Regions from separate parts of the Homo sapiens genome. Here region 1 is linked to region 2. Evidence: promoter capture Hi-C in human tissues and cell types (Jung and others, 2019). All regions are on one chromosome and are shown on one strand. Each heading gives the region's core, a stretch centred on a gene start or on the middle of the fragment in contact. The rest is flanking DNA. Distances are from core to core; before and after follow the strand shown.

The links. Contacts are between HindIII fragments. The study calls those that stand out against the background at their distance.
Region 1: a contact is called between a fragment that was not itself captured here and the fragment with the promoter of OR51L1 in region 2, in 1 of the 25 tissues and cell types used here (ovary).

What each region holds. Positions count from the first base shown.
Region 1 is chr11:5,030,657-5,033,356 of GRCh38, reverse strand. No RefSeq gene overlaps it. Among named protein-coding and RNA genes, the nearest start is that of OR52J3, 15 kb to the left of the region's middle. The HindIII fragment of the contact is 7,888 bases long and covers 1-2,700 here.
Region 2 is chr11:4,993,582-4,996,281 of GRCh38, reverse strand. It overlaps OR51L1 (olfactory receptor family 51 subfamily L member 1), which reads right to left and starts at 1,431. Exons shown (of 3, transcript NM_001004755.2): 1 at 947-1,431. The HindIII fragment of the contact is 11,490 bases long and covers 1-2,173 here.

The DNA of each region.
Region 1 (2,700 bases), core at 1-2,500, 37 kb before region 2:
CACCAGTTCTGTAGTTCTGCTCTGAAATGGTTGCACTTAGGTGTCTTGCTGAGAATATCTTTTATTTCTCTTTGGTTTTGGAGCCCCTGTTCCTCAAACCTCCTATCTTCCTATTTTACAGATAGCCTTGCAATTTTTCTGGAACAAATCTTTAAGTAAATTCCCAAAGTATGATAAATGGGAAGTATAGTTTCAAAACTTTATATGACTAAAAAGTGCTTTGCCCTCAACCATGATTAATATTTTGGGTCTAGTCATTATTATCAGTTGAATTGTAGCCCCTGAAAATGTATATGTTAGAGTCCTAAACCCTCATTACCTCACAAAGTAACCTTACTTGGATCTCTTTTTTTTATTTATTTTTTTTTTTTTGGTAATTGTTGTTGTTGTTTTATTTTGTGGTGAGAACACTTAACATGTGGTCTGCCCTCAACAAATTTTGAACTTCACACTACTATATTGTTTACTACAGGCACTAAAATTATTCATCTATCATAACTTCAACTTTGTACTCACTAAACAACAACTTCCCATTTTCTCCAGCCCCTTAACTTCTGGAAACCATTATTGTCTTATTCACTTCTGAGTTTCACTAGTATAAAAACTTCATTTAAAGTAGAATCATGCCACATTTGTCCTTCTATAAATGGATTATTTCACTTAGTGTAATACCCTCATGTTATTGCAAATAGCAGAATTTCCATTTTTAAGTTTAAATAATATTCTATGCATATACCACATTTTCTTTAAAATCAATAAAAGTCAAATAAAATGGAGAAAATCAACAATGTGGAAAGTTTGTTCTTTAAATAGTTTAATAAATACATAAAATTTTTAACAGAAATGATCATGAGAAAACAGAGAAAACACAGTTCATACTGTTAATGGAAGTGGGAGCCATTACTACAGATCTCACACACATTTAAACATATTTAAATCATGCAGTGAATACAATGCAGAATATTTTTGCATTACACTAGATATCATAGTTTAAATGACATGTTGTTTCTAAATATACCCTCAGAATTTAAACAAGAAAGACAAAATTGGATCATTGTTCCTCTAAATATTTAATCCATAATTTTTAAAAAGTCACTCAAAAAGTCTTCAATCTGAAAGAGTTTCATTTGTGATTTTATCTCAACATTTACAAAGGAGCTAATACCAGTAGAGTCCAAAGTCTTTGAGAGTATAGAGTATTTCCCAACTGGTTTCATGAGTGATAACTGAACCAGTCAATTATATTCTGAGGAAAGGTAATTAAAGACTAACGTGTTTTATAAGCACAGATATAAATACCCTTAAAAATTATCAAATAGAATACAATGTTGTATCAAGAGAATAACACATTGCAAACAAATGAAGGCTATTCTAGTACATAATTTGTTTTAAAAAATTATAGATATACTTCTTCACACTGCCAAAGATAGAAAAAGATGATCACCTTAATATATAAAATTTAAACATTTTTATCCTTTTAATAAAATTTTTATACTAACATTTTACTTTTAATTTTTGGTACATCATAGGTGTATATTTTTATGTATATTTGGATACAGGCATACAATGCATAATAATCACAGTGTGGTAAATGGAGTATGCATCACCTCAAGCATTATCATTTATTTGTGTTACAAACATTCCAATTCTTTTATTTACTTTTAAGTGTATAATAAATAATTGTTGACTGTAATCATCTTGTGCTATGAAATAGTAGATCTTATTCATTCTAACTATATTATTGTACCCATTAACCATTTCCATTCCCTCCACCACTACTATTTTGTAAGATTTCTGAGTAAACTAGAAACAGATGTAACTACCCTAATTTTACAGATACACATAAAAATAATACAGCTAAAATTATATTAATGAAAACATATTCAATATTTCTCCTATAAGGTCAGGTAAAGTCAAAGATGTCTTATAAATACTTCTATTCAGAACTGCACTATATGCCCAAAAGAGTATAATACAGTAAGAAAAATTATAGAAAAAAAGATGAGAATTTGAAAGAATAAAGTAAAAGTCTCTATTTACTTATATGATTGTGTATATAAGATATTCAAAATATTTGTATTTTTAAAAAATTCTGAGTAATATTCAAAAACACATTCAATTTTAATATTCTTAAAAACAATGTAGAAATTAATTTGAAAATACAATTTACCAAGTAATTGCATTATTAGGTATATATCTGAGGAATTGCTCCTCACAAGAGGGCATTAGCTGCAGGGGTCTGCCTGCAGACCCTGACCCAAACGATGGATGAATAAAATGTACATTGACACACAGATAATCTGTTATGCCAGTCCTGCTGAATGTCCGACCACCTGCACACCAAGAGAGGTTTGTCACTGCGGCTGGCCTTGAGAAGCTTGCACTCCAGACATTTATTTAGTATACAATTAACAACAGAAGCTCTGAGTCAACACACTTGTGGATAATTAACATGGTTAAGAGAGTAGTTCTAGGAATGATTAAAGCTCAGCTAAGGTGGTCTGAAGTAAATACCACCAGGGGGGCAGTTTCCCTGGCTGACCTCCCACCCAGAGGGCCATCTGGCTCAAAGGTTAGTTAATGGAGGTAGGGTAACCAGACTTAACTGGGGAAGCCTCTATTGTCCCTAGCATTTACCGTATGACCTAATGCTCTAAGGTAAGAACCGGCTGCCTTCAGCCTGTTCAATTATTACAAGCT
Region 2 (2,700 bases), core at 182-2,681:
ATTACTATGTGCCTGTGTGTGTGTGTGTGCATGCACACACGTGCATGTGTATGCTAAGAACACCTAAGCTCTACTCTCTTGGCAAATTTTCGGTATACAATTTCTGTGGTTTTAATTCTTGCTCATATTGGTTTATCCCTCACTTAAAAAGAGTCCCCATTTCTACAATATTATTAACTCACTGCTTTATCTCATTGATTTATCCCTCACCTGAAAAGAGTTCCCATTCTACAATATTATGAACTGTGGTCATGCTGTATATTAGATCTCTAGACTTATTCTTCCTACATAACTGCAAGTTTGTATGCTTTGAGCTACTTTTCCGCATTTCCTCCACTACCCGGGCCCCCTAAGCCCCTTTCCCGTTTCTATTTCTGTGTGTACTTTCCCTTTCTTATCCTCTCACTGCCATATCTGTCATGTCTTTCACTTTTTAAAATCCATTTATTGTCTTTTCTCTATTCATTTTCTTTTGACTCTATTTCTGGGTCACTGACAATGATTCTTTGTGGTTCTTTGTTGATTTTAGTACAACTTAATCACACTGAGGTCGAAAGAGAAATAATAGAAAAGAACTGGGAGTAATAACAAGACTGTTTCAAAGGGCAGAGGCATGAATAGGCTTATGTCACACATTCACCTATTCCAGGTAATTAAGGGAGAACTACTGAACATAAGACCATTTTTTTACAGCCTCTCTAGTATCAAAACCTATTCTCTGCTAATCAGCTTATCGCTTATCTTAAAATCGCTGAAAATAATTGGAACAAGACATTACAATACTGTAATAAATTTAATTTTTTTCACAGATGAGAATAATTCTTTTTCCTTTTGCATAAATGGTACATCATCTTTCTCATAATTTTACTCTCTTTAGCAAACTATATCCACATACAAAATGTGCTAAAATCTACCAACTATTTATAATTTAAAAATTCACACTTACCTGAAATTTAAATATAAGGCAATTGAATCAATATGCCTAGTTAATTTGCAATCAGTAGCCCATTTCTCAAATGATCCACAGTTCCATTTTGTCTTTCTCTGACTAAACTTTTCTTCACTATAGTTAAAGTCATATTTTCTTTCTGTTCCTATGTCTGTGGCTTTTTCTCTCTTTATCTCATTTTATGTGTCAAATTATCTTTACTATCTTTTCTAGCCTCCTTCCTGCTGCCATTTTTTTATATTTTGTTTTTATCTAAGTTTGTGTCTTTTCAGCATGTAATCCTCTATTTTTTCCGGTCCCTTTGATTGGCTGTTTCTTTCTTCTAATTTCTCTTTGTGTGTCTGTGGTTTAAGTTGCTGCTCTTACGGGCTTATCTCTCACCTGAGAAAACTTCCCATCTCTACCTGAAAATCAAACCTGTACTGATTAAAGATGCTACAATTTTAAGTCTCTATGAACCTCAGGTTTTGAAAACCTTCGACTCTGTGAGTGGTGAGGCTTGAAGGCTTCCACCATCTCTATAAATACTCCTGGTGTCTCCTGGCAAAGAAAATTAGGGATTGGTGTCAGAGTCTGTTGGATCCCCAGAGATGAAATGGCCATAAAAAGCCCTTAACCACAGGTATGGCAAGAGCATATGATCATAATACTGAAAATAGTAGAAATGCATCCCTGTTTTCATCCACCATTCTTAGTTCTCTAATAGTTTTCTCAAATGAGTGTAAGAAAGTAAATTTATGATAACTACTGTGATCCAGAAGAATACTGAAATTTCGGCTTTAACTAGGGGCATTGTACAGAACAATGATGAGAAAGTGCAATGATAAGTCTTTCCATTATAAGATGTTTACCACATTTCACTAAACAGAGTTATTTATTAGTCATGTGCTTCATAAGCATTTATTAAGCAACAGGGTTCAAGAAGGCACACTAAGCACTTTAAAGGCAAACGCTACTATCCAGTTCATTGCTGCTTCCTCAGTGCTTGGTAAGAAGCATCATCTCCCAACACATTTTTTTTCTTTGCATATTGGCTATCCTACCTCTTTGCATTTATTAATAAATTTTAGAAACAGGTTATCCATTTCTACCAAGATATACATTGAGACTACTATTGAGAATGTATTGAATCTGTAGATCGATTTGGGGAGAATTTACATGTTTAGAATGTAAGATAACTAATCCAAGAACAGGAACTTCAATTAATTAAGGTCTTTATTTTTTCTCAATATTATTTTATACTTGTCTGTTTGGAGATTACATATTTTACACTAGGTTTATTCTCACATATTTGGCATTCAATTGTGCTAACGTAAGTAGCATGATTAATTTTTTCTAAATATTTGGGACTGTTACATAAAAATAAAGTTAATTTTTCTTTTTTCAGAAAAGCTGAACTTATTTTTTATTTTTAATAAGTGATCTGTATTCTCTAAGGCCTTATTTTGCACCAAATCACACCTCCACAAGTAATGTCAGCTTCTTTTTCTCTTATTTAAAATCTTCATTATCGTTTTCTATATTTATTGCTTTGTTGCATTGGATAAGATCTCCAGTGCATTTTGGGGAGAAGGGATAAAAATTGTTTTCTTTTCTTTTTGCAGATATCACAGGTGTGGTTAACAACATTTTACCATTAAGTATGTTTGCTAAGATTTTTTGTACCTGCTTTTATCCGAGAATGTTGTCATCTTCTATTGTTCATGTGATAAGGGATTTTGTCAAAAATAGATGCTGAATTTCATAAAATT